3 separate regions of the Homo sapiens genome follow, and all the other regions are linked to region 3. The links are contacts of gene promoters, found by promoter capture Hi-C in blood cells and fetal thymus (Javierre and others, 2016). All regions are on one chromosome and are shown on one strand. The core of a region is centred on a gene start or on the middle of the fragment in contact, and the rest is flanking DNA. Distances in the headings are between cores, read along the strand shown.

Region 1 (4,212 bases), core at 566-3,065, 200 kb before region 3:
GCAATGAAGATTCAGGGTTCTTTTGGTGTAATATTCATATTAATATTTGGGGAAATAATTCTGACATTTGGCCTAAAATATTTTTTATGTAACCCAAATATTATGATGTATCATTCGGGGCCATGCTTTCTCTCATGAGTTTAGGTAACATTAGGCTCTAGCTGTTATTCTAGGTTGGAGGAGTTCAGAGTCCCACCCTCCCCCCACAAATTCTACATTTTCCTTTCATTTTTCCCTGTTTTTATTTCTGATCCCATAGATTCTTCACTGTGTCACCTTAAGTCCGATTTGGATGTAAAGCCAAACGCAGAGCTTGCCTTTCTCTATTTCCCACAGGCAATGCAATCTCACTGTGTTTTGTGCTTAATTGAAGATCTGAGGTGTCATAGGGAAAAACCCCATCATGTGTTATACGGCCTTTCTCATTTTCCAGATAAACACCTTCCCCACTGCATGCTGGCTCTGCCATCACCCCCACGCCCTGACCCCCAGATCACACTGTTCCTCCATTGAGGAGCCACTCCATGTGGTGGGACAGTCTGTCCAGTGGGGCCCCCAGAATTCTGGTGAACAAAAATAGCACAGACATATAACTGTTTATTCATTTTGGTTTATTTGAATGGAATTGGCTACCTTTTGATGCTACCATTCAAATGGACTTATTCACTTAACATACAGTTATGGACCTATGGAGCAAAAAACAACCCCAAAGGATGAAGTCCAACCTCCTCATTTTGCAGAACAAGAAACCAGGGGCAATATTTCCAACCTCACTGGGATCTTTAGGACAGAGCCTTACTCAGAATTTCAAGTTTCTGGATTTTGATACCACTTCTTTGCATCATGAGACAAAATCAGGAGCCCTTTCCCCACCACAGAGAAAGAAGGAAGCCCCTGCAACTCCTAGCCCCATCTCTGGGTCAGCAGGATTCAGGACCAGAAGATACAGACAGAAGAGGTACAAAAAACATACAGATGCTTTAGGCTCTAAAGCATCCAGGCTTAAAAAATAGGCAGAAATTAAAGGAGACGAGTTTTCAAAGAGCAGAGAAAGAGTGAACTATTAGCATTCAAACCACGAAATCTAACGTTACTGCTGTGACTCCTGCTTATCTCATAAATCTGCCTAAGCCTTTGTGACCAGAAGGATGACCTCAGTTTGGGGACCCTGGGCCTGAGATCCAAGATTTTGAAGATTTGTTCCAGGAGTCGCCCTCTGACTCTTTATACAGTCCTTGGGAATTACCTTAACCTTTTTGTGAACTGACCCCTTTGTAAAGCAAGATAATATTACCTGCCTTCATACGATGCCTTTTAAAAATCTATGAGATTCCTGGGGGAGGGGGAAATGTTGTGTTTTAGTTTAGAGGGAAAAGTCATATTTTGCCCTTTCACCAACACTTAGATGATTATCTGAGATAAACAACGTAATTAAGTTTGTGTGTGTGTGTATGTGTGTATGTGTTTAATACTTTTCAGTTGAACAAAATGTAATCACCCCATGAATGGTTTCACCTTGACTTTTGAAAATCTTTGTTTCATCTTGGGATGTTATAGCTCATATCTCATAGGAAAAACCAGCCTTGGAGAATAAAATTTGAAATTATAGACAAATATTGCCATCTCTTGTAGAATGTGCCTGGAAATTCTCTTTTCTCTGTATGCATTATATGCATTATATTTTCTCTGTATGAATATAACATAATATAGAGTTCTTGCTGGCTACTGATATCTAGTCCCTTGAGTTAGGGTGCCAATAGCTTATTTGCAAGTCAGTTTGCTGATGGCTTCTAATTGTACAGCATCTGTTCTAATCTCTCTAGTGAGCTTTAAAATTGAATTCTAACTTCCTGCGGAGTCTCCACTTGAGTATTCCAAAGCCAAGTCCAACCAAAAATGTCCCGAACAGAGCTCGTCATTATCTTCCCTGTCCTCCATACCAAGTTGTCCTCTGTCCCAGTTAGTCATCCAAGCCTGACATTCATTCCACACCATTCCCCTTCTGTCACCCAGCACTTTTGAGTAATTGGGAAATCTTATGACTATATCTGAAGTCTTTCTCCTTTTCTTTGCAGTATCATAGTTCTAATTCAGTCCCTTATAGCTTATCTGAACTACTGCTACTTATTCAAAAAATATTTGTTGGGGATATATTGCATGCCAGGCACCATTCTAGGAAAGTGGGATACAATTAGTAAACCAAATGTACAAAGATCCCTGCCCTAGAATATTTAGGGGAAAAAAGAGGGCAGAAAATAAAAACATAATGAATGGGTAAATTGTACAGCAAATTTAAAAAATATAATGAATTTTAAGAAATTATGTAGTAAATTTAAAAAATAACTGCTGGCTGGGTGCGATGGCTCACGCCTGTAATCCCAGCTCTTTGGGAGGCCAGGGTGGGCAGATCACCTGAGGTCAGGAGTTCGAGACCAGCCTGACCAACATGGTGAAACCCCATCTCTACTAAAAATGCAAAAATTAGCCAGGTGTAGTGACACATGCCTGTAATCCCAGCTACTCGGGAGGCTGAGGCAGGAGGATCGCTTGAACCTGGGAGGCAGAGGTTGCAGTGAGCCAAGATCATGCCATTGCACTCCAGCTTGGGCAACAAGAGTGAAACTCCGTCTCAAAAAAGAAATGATAATAATAACTACTATGCATAGGACATAGGTGCTAGGAGGAATTTGGGTGGAGAAGCTGTAGTTTGCCTTTTTAAATAGGATAATTGGAGTAAGCCTTTTTGAGAAGATAACATTTTATGAAAGGCTTGAAGGAGAAAAGCCACGTGTTCCCTGGGGGAAAACATGGCAGACAGAGGGAAGGGGCCTTCAATTGGGAACGTGGCTGCTAGTGTGCAAGTGAAACAACACAGCTGGAGGCGCAGGAGCCAGGAGAGAGTGATTAGAAGTGCGATGAGGGTTCACTATGTGAACTTCAGCTGAACAGGACGAAGAGGCATTGTGGAGTTTTGAGCAGAGGAATCATGGGACCTGATGTTTGTTTTAAGAAGGTCACTCTGCCTGCTGCCTTGAGAACAAACTTAAGAAACCAGAGACAAACCGGGAGACAAGGCTGGCAGCTGTAGCCACAATCCAGGTGAGAGATATTGGTGGCTGAGACAGGGTGGTAGCAGTGGAGGTGGTGAGAAAAGGCAGGTTGTAGAAATATTTTGAAAGTAAAGACAACAGAGTTTCTGGAAATACTGGGTTGCAGTGTGAGAGAAGTACAGGAGCCAAGGATAGGGAGTTTAGTGACCCAAAGGGTTTACCTGCCCATGGCTTCTCCCGGTGCAGCAGTACTTCCTCTGCGAAATTCATCTTCCCTCCTTTTTTTTTTTTTTTTTTTTTTGACGGTGTCTCACTCTGTCATTTAGGCTGGAGTGCAGTGGTGCGATCCTGGCTCACTGCAACCACTTCCTGAGTTCAAGCGATTCTCCTGCCTCAGCCTCCTGAGTAGCTGGGATTACAGGCACATGCCACAATGCTGGGCTAATTTTCTTTTTTTTTTGTATTTTTAGTAGAGAAGGGGTTTCACCATGTTGGCCAGGCTGGCCTTGAACTGTGACCTCAGGTGATCCACCTGCCTCAGCCTCCCAAGATGTTGGAATTACAGACATGAACCAACACACCTGGCCCCCTGCTACTTCCAGGGCAATCCTTCTATGGGGCAAATCTGGACCTGTCTCTCCTTGCTTAAAAACTTCAGCAGAATCTCTTTCCCTAGAGCCCCTTCATTTGTTACAAGATGCCATCTCTGAGGTGGCCCTGCCTCACCATCTTCGTTTCCCGCTTCTGTACCTTGTACTCCAAACCATCTGCAGGGGCCTGCCTGCACTTCCAGGAGGGATTATGATTTTGCCTCTTAGACAATGGTGTTTTATGTTTTCCTAGTTTGCTTGTGTGATACCTTGTTCCTGAAACTCTCTTTTCTGCTGATTTGCCCAATTGTTGGGAATTCTATTTGTACTACAATATCAGACATTTAACCGGGGAAGTGGAGGTTGCAGTGAGCCGAGATCACACCACTGCACTCCAGCCTGGGCAACAGAGCCAGACTCAATCTTAAAAAAAAAAAAAAAAAAAAAAAAAAAGTAATGCTGTATCCTGAGTTGCAACCTGGAGCCCTGTGGACTGGGGAGGGATTTGGCTTAATTTAGATTCACAAAGACCCAGACTCTGAGCATTCTTTAGAAGCTGGACTGGCCACCAC
Region 2 (4,373 bases), core at 1,309-3,808, 160 kb before region 3:
TCCCCACATCCTCCCTGAAGTGGGAGCTGTGTTTGACCCATGCAGGACCACACACCCACACATTCACATACAACTGGAGCCTACTGAGGCCACTGGCAGAGTCTTCACCTCTCTGAAAAAGTAGGAAATAAGAGTGGGTTGAGGCAGATCATTTTTTCTCTGGATAAAAGTCTCATATTATTCCAGAGTCTTGCTTAGTTTAGAGTAGACAGCACTGAACCCACTGAGCAAGACCACACTTATTTGCATTAATTCGTCAGGCCAAGAAAAGCTATGCAACATGCAAGGTATAATAGAGGTGACAAAAAGTGTGATATGCTTCCTCTCTACCTTCAAGGATCACACATATTGTAAAAGCTACGACTAGTAGTGTAAAGCATAATATGAAATGGAGTAAAGGACTAGAACTAAGGAAAGTGTTTTACAGATGAGGGCAGAAGAAAGAGTAAAAAGTATGCCTCCCTAGGGCAGCTTCAGGAGTGGTATGAACAATGCTTCTTCCAAATTTTTTCCCTCTTGCCTTTGGCTCTGGGTTAAAGAAAACACTTAATTTTCCATCCAGAAAAAAAGATGGCTAACTTGTTCGCATGTTTGGATCCCTCCCTGCCCTCCTTCCTCTCTCTGTTGTAATTACAGCTGTTTCTTGTGAACTTCCTGGGCTCCTTAAATGCCGTGGACTGCTGAGAATTTAGACAGAGGCCATCTTCAAAAGAACTATGGTCGCTACAGAACCTGCAACCAATCAGAATGACTTTTCATCTGGATGCAGTCTAACCGGACCGGAAGTCAGCCATGAGCAAACCTGGAAGTGGCTAGACCTAGATGCTGGGTCTTTGTGTTCAGTATCTCTGTGATGAGGATTTGACAAGTCCTGCCTTTCTTTGACACCTAGGTCTGAATTGCATTTGTTATTGAACTGAAAGGTGATTTGCTCCCACACTGAGGAGAGGCACACAAATCAGACAATTGAATGTGAGCTTCCATTATCGGGATCCCCTCCTCCACCCCACTCCCTCACTGTGGGCTTCAGGAAAGTTGACTCAGGGGTCTCTTCAACAAGCTCTTGCGTTTTACTTCCCACAAACAAAAGGAAACTTGACTGCCGCAAAGCTCATCTCAATAAACTCCTCCCAAGAGACCATGTAACCAAAGGACTGCAGGAGGCCTTAGGCAGGCCATTTGGTATATTCAGGTTCCTCCTTGTGAAGAGCGCCCCAGCTCCTTCAAACAACCCCATCTCAGTGCAAGTCCTGTGAATGAACTGCACAGGGGCTCACTCATTCATTTATTCAATGCTGGGTGTTTCAAAGCATTTCCACAGTCCCAGAGAGGCTGCCTGAGCAGGGAGTGCGATCTGGCTGGTCTTGCTCTGCAGTGATTCTCTTTCTGCATGTACTCTGCTGTCTGCTGGAAGTAGAGCCCCAGAAGGTCGTTTGTCTCTTTTGCCACCTGTGGGGAACCTTTGAGGCAGCCCGTGTGATTTGGGTGCCTTGAGTCAATGAACAGCACACTGTTAGTCAGTTGCAATCTCGGTCTCTGTTTCTTTCTCTCTTTCTGTAGAATAATTTTAAAGGGCAGGCTGAGCAGTATCCACTGCACACCCTTTCTCTTTATCAGTCCACTTACAGAAAGAGGAAATGCAGTTTATGCCTTCCACAGCACAGACATGAACAGCCTGCGATTGATTTCATTTATGATCTGGGTTAAGTGGAATGTCTTACTGTATTGTTTATTTAATAACCTTGCTGTACTTTGCAAACTCAGTCAACTACAGCTAATTCCTGCCTAAGAGAACAGCTTCCCTACAGTATCCGTTGATATGAATACACAATATATGTACTTTCACTTTATTCACTTGACTATAATACATGCATACATTCATTTGTGCCAATCTAATCTCCGTGTGGCTTTGAAAATTTGACCTTGATGTTCTCTCTCTCTGTGAAATTATAGTCATATTTATTCTATTTGTGATTGGAGCTAAGGACTGTTACTTTTTTATTATGAGGCTGGAAGAAAGAAATGTTTGATAATAGGTAACAAAATCATACCCTTAAAGTTCACTGTGATAACTAATTTCAATAGAACATTCCAAAATGTTTAAGCAGTTTTTATTTTTAAGGCTTACAATAACATCCAGTTAAACTTCAAAAACATTTAGCTAACATGTAAAGACAGCTTTTTTTTAAAAAAGTACCTACATAAAATTTCCATTACATTATACATGCTGTCTTTACATAAAGATAAAAGGGTACATTTCTTGAATATTACATACCTAGGGACAAAATATCTTTTTGTTATTAAAAAAGCTTATTATAATTTTTGAAATAAACGCATTGATGACTATTTTTAAAGTGTGTCAAATGGTTACTTTTTAAAATAGTCTAGACATTCTGTTTGTATACTCCAGGCTGTTTAATTTCTTGTACTTCACTAGAACTTCCACAGGGGGCCACAAAATTTTGTAAAAATATCTGTGACAAATATGAATATGTTATGTCTAATCTTCAAATGGGAAGGTAAATTAGTCATGTTTCCAAAGATACTTACAGTGGCAGAGCTAGAAAGAATGAGATTTTTTTACTCTATTACACCATTTAATTGCCTGGATGGGTTGATTGATTTCCAGACAAATTTGTTTCTGTTTTTATGATGATTCACTATTGTTTTTTAGGTTAAAATATTTAAAAAAAATAATTTCTGTGTTGTGTTATCCAGTCAATTCCATTTCCACACACTATCATTTTGCCACCTAAATATTTCTTAACAATATTAGATGCTCAGCACTGTGTGAGGAGGAAGCTTGTATTTTTTTCCTTGTGTGTTTAGGGTAGTCTGACTTGCCTTCAAAAATCCATTCTCTCCATATTTTTCTAAATATGCTACTTAGTGAGGCTAAAGCAGAGTATATAGGGAAAGGTAATATTTTACAATCAGATTTTTTTTTTTTTTTTTTGAGACAGAATCTTGCTCTGTCACCCAGGCTTGAGTGCAGTGGCATGATCTCAGCTCACTGCAACCTCTGCCTCCCGGGTTCAAGCAGTTCTCCTGCTTCAGCCTCCCAAGTAGCTGAGACTACAGGTGCACAACACCATGCCCAGCTAATTTTTGTATTTTTAGTAAATACGAAGTTTCACCATGTTGGCCAGATTGATCTTGAACCCCTGTCCCCAGGTGATCCACCCGCGTTGGGTTCCCAAAGTGCTGGGATTACAGGCATGAGCCACTAGGCATGGCCTACAATCAGAACTTTTGATCTTTATGTAGTTTGTGATAAACATTACCAGGCTCCAAGCAAGGCGTGGTCATTGGGCTAAAATGTCCAGCAGCAACCTTTAACTGTGGGCACATATATAAAGATATGGGTCAAGATCATATGAAGAAACAGTGACCATTGGAAATCTCTCTCACCTCCCACCTCCTTTTATGGTTCAGTTCATCCATGCAGACTGCGTGAGATGATGAAGAAAGCCACTGAGTGGGAAAACTTGGCATTCCTATGCATCTTATGATTTTCTTAAAATTTGTATGAATTGTCATTGCAGCAATAGAATATGACTGCACACAACACTTCACAAAATAACAGAGAGAAGAGTTTGATGCTAATTAGTAGTTCTGATTTTTATTTTTCACTTTTATTTATTTTTTTGAGAAAGGGTCTCATTCTGTCACCCAGGCTGGAGTGCAGGGGTGTGGTCTTGGCTTATTGCAACCTCTGCCTTCCGGACTCCAGCAATACTCTCACCTCAGCCTCCTGAGTAGATGGGACCACAGGCACACGCCACCATGCCTCGCTAATTTTTGTATTTTTTGTAGAGACAGGGTTTGCCATGTTGCCCAGGCTAATCTCGAACTACTAGACTCAAGGTTTTCACCCGCCTCAGCCTCCCAAAATGCTGGGATTACAGGTGTGAGCCACTACGCCTGGCCTGGTTCTAATTTTTAAAGAACTAACCCACAGTGACCCATGGCTTATATTACCAATATATAGAATTTCTCTAATAAAGAGACTTGAAGTTGTTCATGCATGAAATAAAAAACATTTCACTAAAAAAAAAAAAAATGAGGCTAAATAGAGCAGACCGGGGTGAGGCAATTAGCACCTGAACTACCAACCAAGCAGTAGAAAATTAAGGGATCGATGGTAGAGATGTTGTAAAAGAATCTTCTGGACTTGGTAACTGAGAGGCCTTGGCAGGGAAGGAGAAGTAAGGGAGAAGGAAGAATAGAACATGAGCCTCAGAGTTTTAAGTGTGCATGACTGTCATTGCCAAAAGAATAACCAAGAATCCATGCAGTTTTTGTAAGGAAAATCTATGAGTGTGGTGTAGACATACTGAATTTAACATAAAGGGATGAAAGGAAAACCCTAA
Region 3 (3,790 bases), core at 1,023-3,522:
AAAAAAAAAAAAAGAATAAGTTAGGTAAAGAGAAGAAAATAAAGTGCAAAAGTAAGTGCTTCTTTTATGTGTTCAGCACAGCCTTTATTCTGTGAGGTCAATGTCTCTCTTACAGAGGAAAGAAGTGAAACATTTAGCCTGAATCCTGAGAACCAGGAACTTCTCAAACATCTTAGTTTGCCCTCTCCCAGTGTAAATGAATTGCACACTTTCTGAAGTCACTTTTGTATTTCTCCATTGCAGACCACTTTGTACCTACCTGTTTAATCAACATCTTCCCCTCTTGAGTCTTGGTAGGGTCTGGATCTTTCAGCTCTGTTGGATGCTCATGAAGTGTAACCAAAGTTTCCCTTCCTTTTTTTTTTTTTTTTTTTTTTGAGACAGGGTCTTGCTCTGATACCCAAGCTGGAGTGTAGTGGTGCGATCTCAGCTCACTGCAACCTCCACCTCCCTGGCTCATGTGAGTCTCCTGCCTCAGCCTCCTGAGTAGCCGGGATTACAGGCGCCCACCACCACACTCGACTAATTTTTGTATTTTTAGTAGAGATGAGGTTATACCACATTGCCCAGGCTGTTCTTGAACTCCTGGCCTCAGGTGATCTGCCAGCCTCGGCCTCCCAAAATGCTGGGATTACAGGTGTGAGCCACCGCGCACGGCCAGTATTTGTTCAAATGATTTCTCTCCACTTAGGGGAGAGAGAAAAATAGGGCTGGACTACCTGCACTTGGCAAGGGCAGAGTGGCAGAGTAGACTTGCCTACCAGCGAAGCCAGACAGCCTTTGGTTCCAATCTTAGTACTACCACTTTTCAGCTGAGGAACCCCAGCAAATTGTGAGGCCCCCGAGCCTCAGTTTTCTTATCTGTAGAATGGGGATAATGATGCTCTCCTCATAGGATTGCTTAGCGCTGGGTAGGTCCTTAAGGAATGTCCATTGCACTCCCATCCCTCTACAGCTTCCCCCAGATTCTGTCCTCTTAGGAGGCATGGGTGTCACTGGAACATGAGGAAGAATTCCCTGGATCCTTTTTTCCCTTTCCTCACACAGAAGCCAAACCTCAAATACACATCTTCCCTCTCTGTCCACACCCACAGCAGCAAAGAGGAGAGCCAGGGATCTGGGGGTGGGGGTGGGGGCCCATCTTCCTCCTCTCAGTGGGTGGGGGCTCGCAGGCTGACTGGCAGAGGACCTTCACTGGAGTCAAAATAAACTGCCTTCCTGGGGAGGGGATAGAGGGCGAGAGAAGCCGCAGGTATTGTTTTGTGGGGGAGGGGGGTCCTCTTCCTATTCCATTTCACTGAATTCTTCCCACCCGGCATGGCCCTGGGAGGTGACCATAGCCCTGGCTCCCCGAGTAAACACCCAGGTCAAGCTACAGGACTGACTGGGTCTTAAGCTATTATACTCCCAGTGAAAAGATTTTTTTAGCCCGAGGACTATCTCGAACTCGTTCTATCTCAGTGAATGACTCACTGGAAACGGTGTAAACACAGGTGTATTACTGGCCTGCGGAAGACTTGGATGTCCCAGCATGGTAGAAGGCCAGGTCCCTGCAGTGCAACGCTTGCATTCTACATCCAGAAAACTAAAGTTCAAAGAGGTTAAGCAATTTGCCAGAATCCTGCAGTCCAGGGACTGAGCGGAACCTGGAATCCGCCACCGGGACTTCCAGCCCTGCTCCCTCCGGCGCCACCCTCTTCCCAGAGGTAGGGAGAGCTGAGGCTCGCTGTGCTCACGTGGCTTTCAGAGCCCGCCTCGGACCCTGACCTGTATTCCACTCCCGACCCCACACTTCCTCGTTTCCCCTTCCTTCTCCCTCTCTTCCCAGGGTCCCGCAGGGCCGGCTGGATGAAGTGATGCCGGGCACCTATACACGCATGATGGCAAAAGGAGGATTGCAACGCCAGAGCTCGCCCCTCCAGAGCTGTGCAGGGTCCCCACCGAGGAGGGGGTGCAAACGGGTGCTGGGCTCGGGGGTCAGCCCGCGCCAAGTCTGGGGCTGGGGGCGGAGCCTGCCGGTCCGGGGCGGGAGGGTGGGCAAGAGAGGGAGTCCCGGGGCCTGGAGACTTTGGAGGAGTCGGGGCCCTGGGGGTAGGAGACCGCCGGGTGGGAGCGGCAGGCGCAAGCCGGGCGGCGGGGCGCGCGGGCCAGGCGGGGCCGGGCGGCGGCAGGGACTGCGGAGGTGCGGCGTGAGCTGGGGCGGGCGGCGTCACCGGAGGCGGAGGGGGCGGAGCCGCGCTCACAGCTGCCACCCGGCCGCCGGGCCCAGGCAGAAGCCACCCGCCCGCGGCCGGGCACGCACCGCGCGCAGACCTTCTGCGAACAATGCTCCGGCCGGGCGGCTGGCGGCTCGGAGACCGACGGAGGGGCCGGGGGAGCGCAGCCCAGAGGTGAGCCCGCGACGCGCTCTCCAAATTCGGCCTCTTTTTGTCTGGCGAGCGTGGTCGCAGAGGGGAGCTTTGGAGGGGCGCTGCGATCGCCGAGCGGGCTACCCCCGGGGTGACAGGCGACCGCTCGGGAAGTGGGCAGTGCCGGGGCCGCGTGAGCCCCGGGTGGTGCCCGAGGTGCAGGGAGGCGCCCGGCCGGGAGGACCGAGGAGCTGGAGGGTGTTTTTGATTCATTCGAGAATCGCGCTCTTTAAAACGGGGAAACTTTCCTACGAGTTCCAGGAGGGAGGACCGACTGTTAGGATGGTTTCTCTGGTCTTGCTGCTCTGTCTGCGGCCGGAGGCTGAAGCGCTTTGAGGACTGCTTTCCACCGCTAGAGTATTGTCAAGGGGGAGAGACGGAAGGCCGCCTGGCTGCTGGGACCAGGACCCGGGGGGATGGTTTGGGGGTGCAGGGTATGCAGCAGCGGGGCTCCAGAGGCAACGAGATGATGCCCTTTTCCCCGAGCCCTGGCTGAGCCCTCTGAAACGCATGCTGTGAGCACGTTATTAACCTTTGCTGGTATCCGGGGACACACACACTTAGAACATAGAATCCTCTGCTGGGCATGGAGGCGGCCGGGCATTCGCAGCGGAGAGCGCCAGCTCACGGTGTGTGCGTTTCTCTCAGGTAAGCTCTCCCTGCACATGGTTTTGCAGAGCCGATAGCAAAGCCCAATGGTCTAGGGGCGAGGAGTTTTGGCGATGCATTCAGTGCGGAGTCAGGCTCAGAAGGCTTTCCTGATCACTGGCCTGAACTATTCTTAACAACTCCTCTCCCCTTCCCTTTCTGAGAAGAAAATTTGACAGAAAGCCCTAGGGAATTCCGCAGTTATTTTTCTCTCCTGAGGTCTGGTTGGTTTCGACTGTAGTGGGTGCAAAACCACATTCCTCCCTCTGAGATTTTCTTTCCTCCAGCACTGGAGGAAGAAAAAAGAAAAGGAAAAGTTGGGTGAATATCGTAATTTACCCTCTGCGTGAGTAGGGAGGCAGGGGGCTAGTGGGTGGTAAAGTTGTCACTTTCTCCTTTCTGCCTGGTCAGCCCTGGCCAGTGGAGTGTGCTGAAGTTCAGACACTTTCCACACATATTTCTTTCCTTTTACTGGCGTTGCATTAATTTAACTGTAACATACAGAAAAAAATTTTAGGTGAATGTTTTCTGCAATTCTGTCACTTCAGAATAAGGCATAAGCAACTTCTGATGTAAGTCTGAGGGGGTATTTTGGGCCAAAATATTTAATCTTAAAGATCTGGCCACCTTGATTCTTCAGATTCTTTTTTGAAATGGGGTGGGAGTGTATCTGACAGCTTCAGTCTTGCAAACTGTAGCCACAAATCTAGTGCAGAAGTTTGCAGAGGCAAAGA

Evidence for each region. Contacts are between HindIII fragments. The CHiCAGO score rates a contact against its expected background, and 5 or more counts as called.
Region 1: a fragment that was not itself captured here is called in contact with the fragment with the promoter of PRAG1 in region 3 in 1 of 17 cell types (M1 macrophages); the score reaches 6.7 in M1 macrophages.
Region 2: a fragment that was not itself captured here is called in contact with the fragment with the promoter of PRAG1 in region 3 in 6 of 17 cell types (M2 macrophages, M1 macrophages, M0 macrophages and 3 more); the score reaches 20.3 in M2 macrophages.

The regions. Positions count from the first base shown.
Region 1 is chr8:8,584,978-8,589,189 of GRCh38, reverse strand. No RefSeq gene overlaps it. Among named protein-coding and RNA genes, the nearest start is that of CLDN23, 110 kb to the left of the region's middle. The HindIII fragment of the contact is 8,196 bases long and covers 1-4,212 here.
Region 2 is chr8:8,545,834-8,550,206 of GRCh38, reverse strand. No RefSeq gene overlaps it. Among named protein-coding and RNA genes, the nearest start is that of LINC02950, 87 kb to the right of the region's middle. RefSeq lists enhancers at 1-53, 74-153. The HindIII fragment of the contact is 493 bases long and covers 2,312-2,804 here.
Region 3 is chr8:8,384,921-8,388,710 of GRCh38, reverse strand. PRAG1 (PEAK1 related, kinase-activating pseudokinase 1) reads left to right here and starts at 2,272. Exons shown (of 6, transcript NM_001080826.3): 1 at 2,272-2,390. RefSeq lists a silencer at 1,890-2,569. The HindIII fragment of the contact is 9,968 bases long and covers 1-3,790 here.